Linked DNA regions of Homo sapiens: region 2 is linked to region 1. Evidence: promoter capture Hi-C in human tissues and cell types (Jung and others, 2019). All regions are on one chromosome and are shown on one strand. Each heading gives the region's core, a stretch centred on a gene start or on the middle of the fragment in contact. The rest is flanking DNA. Distances are from core to core; before and after follow the strand shown. Region 1 holds the start of KBTBD7 (kelch repeat and BTB domain containing 7). Region 2 overlaps ELF1 (E74 like ETS transcription factor 1).

The links. The method cuts DNA at HindIII sites, captures the fragments that hold promoters and counts their contacts. A contact is called where the count stands out against the background at its distance.
Region 2: a fragment that was not itself captured here is called in contact with the fragment with the promoter of KBTBD7 in region 1 in 1 of the 25 tissues and cell types used here (dorsolateral prefrontal cortex).

What each region holds. Positions count from the first base shown.
Region 1 is chr13:41,190,848-41,197,759 of GRCh38, forward strand. KBTBD7 (kelch repeat and BTB domain containing 7) reads right to left here and starts at 3,722. Exons shown (of 1, transcript NM_032138.7): 1 at 1-3,722. The coding sequence starts at 3,410. The coding sequence ends at 1,356. The region is part of intron 3 of KBTBD6-DT (KBTBD6 divergent transcript); the gene reads left to right. RefSeq lists enhancers at 2,464-3,171, 3,172-3,878, 3,223-3,492, 3,803-3,892. The HindIII fragment of the contact is 7,226 bases long and covers 375-6,912 here.
Region 2 is chr13:40,969,931-40,976,842 of GRCh38, forward strand. The region is part of intron 2 of ELF1 (E74 like ETS transcription factor 1); the gene reads right to left. Among named protein-coding and RNA genes, the nearest start is that of ELF1, 46 kb to the right of the region's middle. RefSeq lists an enhancer at 5,046-5,195. The HindIII fragment of the contact is 4,519 bases long and covers 2,294-6,812 here.

The sequences.
Region 1 (6,912 bases), core at 2,472-4,971:
ACCACTGTTTAGGGAAATATTTTAGAGGAAACATACTTTCACTACTGGCCCCAAATCCCATCATCCACTTAGGTTCTTCAATGTCAACTTTTAATACAAAAATACCTTCAAGCTGATAATTAAGAACATTCACAATGACTTACAAAATGGACAATATTCCAATGCTACACAAAACGGTTCTATAATACACAGCTTAAAGTTTTAAAGTTCTTGGCTGGCAGTTGATTTTTTTTATAGCTGATAGACACGATAACTACTGATCTGAGTAAAATACTGTTTTTAGCTTATACATATGTTCTAAACCATATTACCTCACAAAACAGTAAAGAATAAATCACTTTCTGTTGAAGAATCCTCTAGGACAAACACCAAACCTACACAGCCAAAATATTTTAGGGAGGCAAGTAAACATTTTAAGACAAATCATGACCAGTGGATAAAAATTTGCATTACCCAATTATATGTCCAGGAATTGTTCCTCTGAGTCAGTAAAGCATGTATTGGGCATAAATTAAAAACACAAACATAAAAAGCAAGTTACCGTTTTTTTTTTTTTTTTTGGTTTAGAAGGGTGTTTAATTCATGACATTACTAAGAATGGGTGTTTTTTGGGATAGAAAATTGGTCACATATACCAAATACACATTTTATATTCCAAAATAAAAACTGAGATTTCTTTTAAAACAGTGGAATCCTGATTTTTTCTTTTTTTTTTTTTTTTTTTTTACTTTCTGTGAGCTTATGAGGCCATTCTGCACATTATCAAAATGAAATCATTATGCAGTAACCTTATATATATAAATCCAATTTTTTCCTTTGTAGAAGAAAACCAAAATAATTTTACAAACTACATTTAACTTAGAATATAAAGAACTGACTAGTGTAAAATTTTGAAAATCTACCACTTTATTTTGAAGGAAAGTACACATCCTTCAAAACCCCGCTAACAATTCCTAGTTCAGTTTTCTATTATACAAATCAAAAAGTTAAATTCCTTGTGGCACTAACCAAAACTTAAAAATTAACAGAAGACTGAATTAATTAAAAAAAAAGCATACTAACTAATCAAAACAATCCACTGTGCAATGAATATTTGAACAATGAAAAAAACCTACCAAGCATCCTAATCAATTATATAGTTCTTGCTTCCATATTTTAATTCTGGACTTTCAGGATGGTAAATTATTAAACAGGTCGATTTCATGGACTGTCTAAACCTTGTAGTATTTCAAAATATTACCCTTTCTAAACCAAATCTGTGGTCCTAATCAACTTTTTTTCCAAGAAAAAGAAACGATATGTGTTTAAAATACATTCCGTAGCAGTAGAAACATCTTAGTGTCTCAAAATACTATTTACAAAGAACCCTGCTGATCCTGTGCATTTCGCTGAGGTGCTACTTGCACCCAGACTTCATCATCTGAAAAAGAACTTGAACTTCCTGACTCAGAGTCCAGCTCACTGAATCCATCTAAGTCCCATTCAGTACTAGACTCACTCCGTGCATCATCTTCCTCAGTAATAAAACTCTGACCAGGTTCAAGGCAGGAAGGATAAACACGAGCACAAAGGCAAATAAAGCCAGAGTCAAACTGCAAAAGGCCTAACATGGTACCTATATTAATCCACTGATCTTCCCTAGTATCATACTCATACACTGTCACTCGGTTCTTTTTCCATTGTGGGGTTGTAGAAGTGATGAGAAGCAACTTTTGGTCATGATTGACAATCTGGTAGTTGTGGGTCTCTGAATCCAAAGGAATATTACTAATCCGCCTCCATTCTCCCCTAGCTGGGTTGTAGACCTTCATGACTGGGATGTCACAGATACAATAGATTTCATCATTGAAGACACATGCTTCCTGAAAGTCACTACGTTTAAGAGAAGCACAGTTCAGCCACATATTGTGGCTAGGATCATAGCAAAGCATGCGCTTACTGTTGACAGCATAAAGATAGTTCTGAACCACTATGAGTTCAAAGGAATAGAAGGAATGAGGGACAGGAGCCACCAATGCCCACTGGTTTCTCTGAACACTGTAGCATTCCACTTCCTTCAACTTAACTCCAGTAATAGGGTCTCGTCCCCCCAAAATGTAGATGTAGCCATTGAGATATGCCACATCCATGCCCTCACGACACAGCAAGCGATCTGCAAGTTGCTGCCAACTATTCTGAGCTGGTTTATACACCCAGAGGTCTTTCCTGGGCTGAGCAGCTAGATAGATGTCATGGTCTGGGGACACACAGACAGCTGAGGAGGTGACAGTCTTAGTGTGAGCAAAGCTGGTCAAAGGGGATGGCATTGTGTAAATGTCCCCCGAGTAAGGGTCATAGCAGAGAAAGGGATCTCTAGGATGTCCAAAGAAGATCACCATCTCCTTGGCACACATACCCAGTCTCTGGGGTGGATTTTCTGCTGCAGATACAAGAGAGTTGCTGCTGCTACTGCTGCTGCTGCTGTTTGGCACTGGCACCAGAGACTTGTACAACAGGTCACCATAGCGCATCTGCAGGGCCCCTTCAATAACGTCCAGGCAGTACTTCTTCACGATGGGCTTGGTCAGCAGCCCTTCTAAGTAGTCCTGATCTTCTTCAGTGAAGTGCATCCAGCGCACGCACTTGAAGACTTCTGCAGCACTGGGACCCCGCTCTTTGGCAGCAGCCTCCAGCCACTGCACAGCTACATGGCATACAGTCCGCTCACTCTCTATGTCCAGACTATCCAGGCGTAGGACAGCCAGCAGCTGGGCCAGGGTTAGATCTGCTAGAGTCTCCTCCCGAATTGAACCCATTCGGCTGAGCTGCTTGAAGTTGTGAGCTATGTAGGACTGGGCCTGAGATCGAAGCTTGTGATGGTCGAAGGCGTCTGCAAACTTGAGGATGGCGGTGCAGTTGGTCAGGTCAAGACGTCGGGCTAAGAAGGAGGCACAGGCTTCCCGCACATATTCCAGCTGTAGCATGTCGGAGGCCGCGTACAGGCGCTGCACATTGGCCTCACTGAGAGACACACGACCCGTGTAGCAGTAGTCGACCAACACCTCGAAGGACTCGGCGTCCACATCGTGCATGGTCACGCTGGCCTGCTGGCTCTCGTACATGCCACCTGTGAACATGCTCTTGAAGTAGGGACACGCAGCTGCTAGCACGTTGCGATTGCAGGAAAAGAGGCGACCCGTGCCAGGCCCGCTGCCAGGCGTCACCACCTCGATGGTCACATCACACAGCAGCCGCGCGTCGTAGAAGGACTTGAGCTGTGCCAGCAGGGCTGCAGAATGGGCCGTGTCCTTTAACTCCTCTGGACCCGTGAAAAAGGCCGAAACCGAGGGCTTGGAAATCCTCTTGGGCCGCCTCCCACCACGGGGACTGGCGAGGCGGCGAGAGCGCGGGACGTCTTCCCGGGACTGCATGGTGGAGATGGCGACGGGCGCTGACGGCGAGAAAGGCTGCAGGACCAGGCTCTGGCTCCTCCTCAACCTTCCCTCGCTGACGCTAAGACAAGCCGCGTCCTGGAACAGACTGCGGCACGGGCCGCACTTCTGAATTCAGCCCTATCCCGCGGTGAGGCCTCCCTTTATTGCATAGACAGTGGCTGACTCACCCTCTCTCACTCCCGCGCCCTTTCTCCGCCTCCGCTCGCCCTCACAGGACCCGCTGGCTTGCAGCCGCGGAAGCCCCCACTGCCGCGCTGGCGATCCCGCTAGGCGCCCGGGAGAACTACTGCTCCCAGGTTGCCTTTCGCGCCCCGAGGCCTGCTGGGGCTCTCGGACGGCCGGGCGGGGACAGAGGGAAAGAAACCGCTTTGCATGTTGGGAGTAGTAGTTTGTGTAATATCGCGAGCTGTCCTTTAGTTGACTGCTCTAACAGTAGAAATTAATTCTCCTGGATTTGATGGTGAAGAGACTGTTGCCCAGGCTGGTCTTGAACTCCTGAGGGCTCAAATTATCCTCCTGCCTCGGCCTCTCAATGTGCTGGGATTACAGGCGTGAGCCACCGCCCCCTGCCAGTATTTCATAGGGTTTTGTGTGGTTCAATGATACCTTACATGGGATACTTAGATACATGTATGTTTTTGGTTAGAAGAATAGTAAAGCGTTACCCCGTGCCTAGAATGTAGCCAATAACTGTTAGATTCTCTTTTATAATTTATGATAAATGAGGCACCCACTAATTTGAAACCGAGTATTATTTTAAACCGCAAAATTTTACAAAGAATTTCTAGTTTTTAATGTTTATTCCTTCGAAAGATTTTGAAGGGCATTAACAATATTTTCAATATTAAATGATATCTATTGGTCTCGTTTAATAAGGATGTCTTAGACGACTAGGTTGAGGTCCTAAAGAACAGTATTAATAGATGGTCTCAAATACGCAAATCCAGCATATAAAAATAAATTATTTGCTGCTCTCACTAACATTTCATCTCTGGAGAGCAGGAGTATTTTCGTTAAGCTCCAAATATGAGTGTTTTCAAGTCGTCTAATACAGCCTCTTTCACTGCCGTTCCACAAATCAATTAACAGATTATGTAATTCCCTTTATTAAGGAGTTTTAGGGAGTATTTTAACTCAAAATATTTCAACAAACAGACTTTGTTCTGTACAAAAGCACATGATTCTCAGAATTCAACATCAGTACATGCCCTGACATTCCTTGAATTAATATATAGTATAGTCTATGCTTTACAAAGTCTTTTATATTTGCATTGGGATCAACAGTTAAATCATCAAAATCAAGTATTAGAGATTTGAGGCAGGAAAATAGGGTCTGGAGGCAGGGAACATAAGGCTGATTCACACTTTAGCTATAACAGGAAAGATCCTCTCCATAGGGTGTATGCTGAGTAAATGAGTTTGTAACTTTACTTCATTCTCTTCATTTACATAGGGTGTACACCAAGTAACCAGTGGAATCCTCTAGAGGGTATTTAAACCTTCAGAAATTCTGTAACAGGGCCCTTGAGCCCCTATGCTCAGGCCCGCTCCCCACTGTGGAGTGTACTTTCATTTTCAGTAAATCTCTGCTTTTGTTGTTTCATTGTTTCCTTGCTTTGTTTATGTGTTTTGTCCAATTTTTTGTCCAAAACGCCAAGAACCTGGACACCCTCCACCAGTAACAGACTTTTTCAGATAACTTTTATTACAAAACCATGACTGCTCCTGCTGCTAGTTTGTTATGTTACCATAACCTAATAAAGAAAATCATCAGTGTTACATGCATGTATGGATAACACATTACAAGAGAATAACTTTCAAATTGTTTTTCTCTTATCAGCTGAAGATAACTTCAACTTATCAGCTGAAGTCCACTGGAAATACTCTAGGGTAGACACATTAAATTAAGTCAGCCTCTGGGCTCTAATAACTCCTCTGTAAATAAAAAGAGATGTTAGATATCCCTCAGATACACCAGAGAGAATCAAGTCAGTCATTATCAGTAACAATGATTGTTTCCTGACTTGCAGTGAATACCAGCTGGGGAAAAAAGCCTTTTTTTTTTCTTTTTTTTTTTTTTTTTTGAGATGGGGTCTTGCCCTGTCACCCAGGTTGGAGTGCAGTGGCACCATAATAGCTCACTGCTGCCTCAAACTCCAGTGCTCAAGCAATACTTTGCCCTCAGCCTCCCAAGTAACTAGAGCTATAGATGCATACCACCACACCCAGTTAATTAAAAAAAAATTATAGACAGGGTCTCACTGTGTTGCCAGCCTGGTCTGGAAATCTTGGTGTCAAGCACTCTTCCTGCCTGAGCCTCTGAGTTGCTGCAATTACAGGCATGAGCCACATGCCCAGCGCAGGAATGGCCATTTTAAAAAACTTCTTAAAATATTGGTAAAATATACATAACACTAAATTTACCATTTAAACATTTTCAGTGTATAGTTCTTTAGCATTAAATATATTCACACGGTTTTGCCACTATCACAAAACTGAAGCTCTGTACCCATTTAAACAATAACTCTCTAGCCCCCACTTCTGGCAACTGCCATTCTACTCTTTGTCTCTATGACTTTTGACTACTCTAGGTACCTCATATAGGCAGTGACTGATTTTTACCTTCCTTATATCTGCTCTTACTGTGTTATTTGGTTTAGGTTACCTGTCACACAATTGAAGATATCTATTAGGCACTATTCCCTAAGATCTAGAGCTATGTGCTGTCCCATAAAACTTGGGAATATTTTATATTTGTGCTGGCTGATACAGTAGCCAGAAGCCACATGTAGCTCTTGGGTACGTGAAATGTGGCTAGTGCAACTGAGGAATTAAATTTAAAATTTTAGAAATACAGCATGATACCAATGCAATTCAATGAAGAAAGAAAATTCTTTTCAACAAATGTTATTGGAACAACTGGATCAAGAATGTAAGACAGAAAGTTGCCCTTGCCCCTACCTTACACCATAAGCAAAAAATTAATTCAAAATTTCTCCTAATACTAAATGGAAAAGTGGAAACTATAAAGCTTCAAAAAGAAAACATAGGGCCGGGTGCAGTGGCTCACACCTGTAATCCCAGCACTTTGGGAGGCTGAGGCAGGCGGATCATGAGGTCAGGAGATTGAGACCATCCTGGCTAACACGGTGAAACCCTGTCTCTACTAAAAATACAAAAAATTAGCTGGGCATGGTGGCAGACACCTGTAGGCCCAGCTACTCAGGAGACTGAGGCAGGAGAATGGCATGAATCCAGGAGGCGTAACTTGCAGTGAGCCAAGATTGCGCCACTGCACTCCAGCCTGGGCGACAGAGCGAGACTCCGTCTCAGAAAAAAAAAAAAAAGAAAAGAAAAGAAAACATAGAAGACTATAGCTTTGCGGTTGGCAAAGTTTTCTTGGGACACCAAAAACACAGATCATAAAAAAAAGACAAAGTGAATTTCAAAAGTGAATTTCAACAAAATTACAAGCTGC
Region 2 (6,912 bases), core at 3,303-5,802, 220 kb before region 1:
ATCACTCACTCACGAAACTATCTGGGCCTACAGGTTTTGTGCATGTGGGGATTGTTCCCTGGCAATTTCCTCAGTTTCTTTCATTGTTACTGGCACATTTTCAAAGAAAAAAAAATCTACATTATTACCATTCCAAAAACTTAAAATATTTCAATGCATTAGCTCAAATGATATAGCAAATCCTTATACTGTTCTGCATTATCCCATCATCCCTTAAAATATAAACAAACAAATCAAGTGTCGTCAAGATTAATGAGGAAATTAACGAACAGCTAAAAGACAAATTATCCTCTAGTTGATACTCTAAAAGAGTGTTACTAAATCAGAACTGGAATCTAGACTTATTTAGTAATTCAGCTAGGTTACTTTGAACAGTAATTACTCTGGATGCCTTTGTAAGCTTGCCCTACAAATCTATCACAGGTGAAAGATTCTAATACAGGTCTCCTAGTCACTTAGTAATAAATTCAAGATAACATTATACTATAGAAAACGGGAAAAATACGATCTCTATCATACAGTGACTTGTAAGAATCCAAGTGTATACAGAAAAGACTGTAAACTACAAAGAGCTGTACAAGATGTTAGGCAGTGTTATCTTTACATTGTATTCAAGACTAAGGCAAGTAATGTTTTCTTGGCATGGAGGTTAACATGCAAAGATGCTGCTTTGGATGTTAATCTTCGTGCCAAGTATGTTTGGATGTTAACCTCCGTGCCAAGAAAACATACTTGTCTCTATTAGCCTCCTTACACTTCCCAATGGCGTTTGTTCTCTAATATCCTCATTTTTATGGATTATGTACCTGCTATAAATGTCACATAGATAAACATGTGGTTTAATTAAGGGGAAAAAAGGATTCAAGTGTCTGGTCAATGTACTTTCAACTAAAAAAACTCACTACAGCGCTGTGTAAAAAGTGTTCTCTAGTCTCTGTCTTTGGGAGTCTTTCAATATAATAAACTATAAAATAGAATACAGTGGTACCCCTAATGTAGTGATGACGGAAGCAGCTACTATGTTAAGGACGTCATATGGCTTTATCCACTCAATCCCCACAACACTAGGCTATATATTATTGACACATACTAGTCACCCAGCCAGAAAAAGCTGAAATCTGAACCCAAGCAATCTGACTCTAGAGTCCACAAGTTTAACCACTACCAGTACAGGATCCTATAGATAAACTACTTAGAATTTATTACTAAGTCATAATGAAAGTCTCATTTCAATTAACGCTTGGATAAAAAATGTATATTATATATAGATTGATAGTTATCTTCTAAATGATCACTGTATTAGACCTACAGCTGAAACAAGTTTGTTTTCTTTTTCTTTTTTTTTGAGACAGGGTCTTACTCTGTCACCCAGGCTACAGTGCAGTGGCAAGATCACAACTCACTGCAGCCCCCACCTCCCAGGCTCAAGTGATCTTCCCAACTCAGCCTCCTGAGTAGATGGGACCACAGGCAGGCACCACAACACCCAGCTATTTTTTTAATAGAAACGGGGTCTCCCTATGTTGCCCAGGCTAGTCTCAAACTCCTGGGCTCAAGCGATCTTTCTGCCTTGGCTTCCCAGAGTGTTGTGATTGCAGGCATGCGCCACTGCGTCTGGCCAGTATTTGAGTGTTTCTGAAAAAATCCTGGCTTCTCTCTTGCACAGCACCATCAAAAACATAAAGGTCTAAGTAAAATGGTCTTTTCTCCAGAATTCCCCAAGATAATGTTTGAAATTCCATTGCAAATCCTTGTGGAGTTATTTTTTAACAAAGTCTAATCCTAGTGTAACTGTGTCATGACAATTGGCTTTCTTTAGTCTTTGCCTAGATTCTTCTTTTTGTAGCCAGGATAAATTACAATTTGGCCATACATCTCAAAAAGTAAGAGTCAATGAGAATGATCTGTTTTCTTATTGGAATGTCCACATTAAAAGCTTAATAGTATTGGTGGGTTGTGTATGTGTGGGTATATGTAAACAGAATCAGTTATGAGGTAAACAAACAGGTAGTTTTTTTTTGGGGGGGGGTATAGTAAATTTTAACCAGATGTAAATGTTTACTTTACTTACAAACTAAGTAGATTAATAAATATCAGAGTAGTCACTACCAGACAGGTAAGTGTTTTAAACATGCAGATTCCATATAACTCAAAGAATTTTAAAAAATCATAAAGGGCAATTTCTGCTATGAAAAGATGGACTTTGACAAGAATCTTATACAATATGTACACAGCAAAGAATAAAATGAGGTAAGGCATCCTTGAATACAGGCAGTTTAGCTACAATAGAGTCTCTCCCAGAATGGAAAATTCATACTACCTGCTCATAGGTATGGGAGAAATTAGTGGTACTCCAAAAAAACTGAACAACGCCAGGGCAAACTATGTCGAAACAAATGTTAAAGGAAAATGCTCCCTTACGGCATAAGTCCACCAGATTTTTAAAATCCTGAGTCACAAGTTTATTGGCTTATTCTAGAATCAAGACAGCCATTCTGGATTATCAAAGGAAAAATGTGACAACAGAACAAAACAAAACGATCTGAATGAATTTGTATAACTGGTATGCAAGTCACAAAAATCACTTTCATCACCTCACTTACCCAGTTGGATAATAGAGATTATCCAGTGTAAGACAAGAGCTATTAAAGCTTTTTCTTGATTTATCTCAGGTCATTAATATGAGGACTGTTCCATGTACCATGCTATAGGTAAATGCATTGCATAAGCATTTAATGCTCATAACCTTGGGAGGTAATTCTGTTATTTTTGTGAAAGAAATAAAGCTCAATGATATGTAAAAACTTGTCTAAAGTTACACAGCTAGAGCCAGGCTCCCAAATTGATGTTTTTTTAATGCCATATCACACAGACTCTTGATTGACAAACATCAGTTTTCATGATTAAATGTTATGTCAAAGTTGTGGGCAGTGGACTGAACACACACTAATCAATCACTGTTTAAAAAATCATCTCCCACCTAAGTCTTTAAATAATACATTATTTCCGAATGTGTGTGTTGAGGTAGGAAAGGGGAGGGAGGAGATTACAGATAGCTGGGCTTCCCAGTAGCTCCTTTCCAACAGAACAATGGAATTTTGTTCTAAAAGTTCTTGTTTTTATTTTGCATATGCCACAAAATAAAGTAGAATAGGGCAAATGCAGAAATCATGTAAAACCATAAAATATAATAAATCATTAAACTGTCACCTAAAAGATCACCTTTTAGGAGGGAAGCTTCTTTCCTAACTTTAATCTTCGCATCATCCTGCTGATAAGTTTCCTGGTCTCGTATCTTCAGTACTTTCAACATCACATTTAGTGGGAACAGGTTAAATGGGTCAGCTTACAAATGTTTTACCAGTCAAAATATTATAATGTAGCATTTCTAACAACAATTCCTTGGCAATTTTCCAAAAGAAGAATTGCTCTAATATTGAGAATTTTGGTTACTATTTCTAAAACACACACAAACAATTATTTTCATCAGTACTCTCTAAATATGTTGAAAATGACCCTCTTTTTTAAAAAAGGCCAGTTACACTAACTGTTTATATAACTGCCTATCTTTTATGTGCTATGTGTTCACTGAAATGGAAAGGAGACAAAAATTTTCAAGATCACATAGCAAAACTAAGACACATCAAAGGTGTCAAATGTTAGGGGAAATTTTTTTAAGTTATTTTTAGAAGCAACAGAGGTGCTAATTTCCTTTTTTTTTTTTTACCCAGGAAGGCTATTCTAGGTGATTGAGTATTTTCTGGGAGAAGACGTTGCCAACTCTATTTCTGACAAGAAACTGACCAACACAAACCTCATTTTAAAAAGTGTTCTTTGAAAATGTGTACAGAATGGATAAATAAAATGTGGTATATCCATATGATACAATATTATTCAGTAATAAAAAGAATGGAGTAATGATACATGGCACAACACAGATGAACCTTGATAACAGGATGCCAAAGTAAAAGAAGCCAGTCGCAAGACAGCACATATTCTATGATTCCATTTACTATAACTGAATTGTCCAGAATAGGCAAACATACAGAGACAGAAAGTAGATTAGTAGTTCCCAGGAGCTAGGAAGAGTGGGGAAGAATAGGTCATGACTGCTAACAGGTACAGATTTCCCTTTGGGGTGATAAACATGTCCTAAAATTGATTATGGAGACAGACATACAATTCTGTATAAACTTAAAACCATTGATTTGTACACTTTAAGTAGATGGATTATATGGTATGTGAATTACATTGCAATAAAGCTGTTTTTTTTAAAAGGTACATATACAGGTATGCCAGGCATAAGAACCATCTACCTGTAATTATACTAATTAGCTAAAATTAGTAACACTTTTTTGCCAAAATCATAAATGCAGGATATAATAATTCTTCCATATTTTAAACTACTTTTCACCACTTACATGTTGCAGTGGCTAGTATTATTCAATTAGTGGTTAAAGGCACAGGCTGGGTTACAATTCCTAGCTTTATCACTTAGTAGCTATGAAATTACAGGCAAGTTGCTTCCCTTCGCTGAGCCTCACTTGACTCTTTTGTAGTGAGAATTAGGAGCACCTACTTCTTAGGATTGTTGTAAGAATTAAATAGGATAATCCCTATAAAGCACAGTGCATGGGGCAAGATGCTCACTAAACACTAGCTACTAAAATTCACCACTGAAAGTTTCTGAAGCCCATCTAGTCCATGTTCTACCCTATACAATGATCTCATCTTATTCATTTTCAGGACGTTATCCCTGGGCCTCTGTGGGATGGCTAGGGGGCAGTTAAAGGAAGATTTTGCAAAAAAGAGTAATAAGTTCCTACTCTCCACACTGACTCCTCTTTCATAACAACTATCAGCCTCCTTGCTGCCAAGAATGGGCAAAGAGATAAGCCAAATGTTAGACCACAGGCAGGGTTGTTCCTTCACTTAACCTGAAGAGGGCCTCAGCCTTTATGCAAAGTCAGATCTCCCCCAGAAGGCAATCAGGCTTGTAGCTGGGGACTCTAAGACATAACTCCTTTGATAAAGACTTTTCCAAGTGTACCAAAAATAAACAAGCAACCTCTGTATATTAGTTTCACAAATGGCCAAGCTTTTAATGGATTTCTTAAGTTTGATATGACAAGATTTAAAAAGAAGGCAACCAAAGCAGATAGAACCTGGAATTTTAAGGTAAATAACAGAGGATCCACTAAGTCCACGTACAGATCAGTAGCAACACTCCAGCTTCCTGCCCTTCTCATCACTGGCGCTGAATAAGTTACACATTAAACACTATCAACTCATTCCTTCTACCTTACTTTATGAGGTACACCTAATCTCTGACCTAACAGAATCTTGCCATTCCAGTTGAAAAATGGCAGGTTGGTGTGACTTATCCTCTTACATACAGGAAATAGCATATAAGGAAAAAGGAAAGTTCTATATGAATGTTAGTTTCTCTGATTTTTTTTTTGAAAAACAATTTTAATATACAACAGAGTAGAGGGAAAAACAAAAGCATCCACATGCCTACAACCAGATTTAATAAATGTGAACAACTGTCATTTAACACATTTTATTTATTTACAATTTCAATGACAATCTTTAAAAGTTATTTGAAGTGTTTTCCACTAAATGTACAACAGATCAGTTCCAAATACTTCAGAAAAAAGATTCCATGAGCATCTGTTTCTGGTCTTAGAACTGTAGTGACATGGCTACATTGTCCCTGCACCAAATGAGAATGTGGACAATAGGTCCTGGGAAAATGTATTCTGTGGTCAAGACAGCTGTGGGCAAGGTATCACCCTCTCATTATTCAGAGATGCTCTGATATGATAAGAACCATAACTGAACACTTATATATCCCAGATCATCTAGCAACAGGTAAGTTTTACCTATTTTATAGAAGAGATCACTTATTCAACAGATTTTAAAAAGAAAAAAAATCTTTAAGAGGACTCAGTGATATTAAAGGCTTTGGTAATATTAAGGGGAAAAAAGACAATGTCTTACTTCAAATAATTTAACACATTTGAAAAAATTAGTAATGTGTATATGAAAATTTAAGATGGCAAACGTGAGACTGATAATAAGCAACATAGAAATAACAGAATAAAGTTGTTAATTCTTGAAGGAATTATTTTAGGATGAGTTCCTGGAAAAAGTATGCTTTGTTCTAAAATCTTGAAAGATTATTAGACTTAAATATGCAACAGGTATGAATGTTGGAGATCATTTCTGAGCAAACAGTGGGGAAGCAGGAAAGCATTCTGGAAAATTACATAGTGTGAAACAGGCACACTGTGAAAAGTTTCTAACCATAAATTAAGATGTTTGGACTGATAATGAAGTCAAGAGAATCTGTTAAAAGTTTTGGTACACTCTACTGCTCTAGAACACCTCCTCTTCTTCATCTGTCAGATAAACTAGATCCTCCTTTGAGATCCAGTTCAACTTCCATGGTGAAGCATTCCCAAAGTTGCAGTGCAGTCAATGGCTCCATTCTCAGTATCCACAGCACTTTGCATTTATCTGTGTTACATTGAATAGTGTTTCCCAAACACTGCATGAAAAAATCACTGGGCAGCTTGTATAAAAGACAGCAAGGCACTGTTATTCTTTTTGTTTTGTTTTGTTTTAGACGGAGTTTCACTCTTGTTGCCCAGGCTGGAGTGCAATGGTGCGATCTCAGCTCACTGCAACCTCCACCTACCGGGTTCAAGCAATTCTCTTGCCTCAGCCTCCTGAATAGCTGGGATTACAGGCATGCACCATCACGCCTGCTAATTTTGTATTTTTAGTAGAGATGGGGTTTCTCCATGTTGGTCAGGCTGGTCTCGAACTCCTGCTCTCATGTGATATACACCACCCGCTTTGGCCTCCCAAAGTGCTGGGATTACAGGCATGAGCCACTGCACCCGG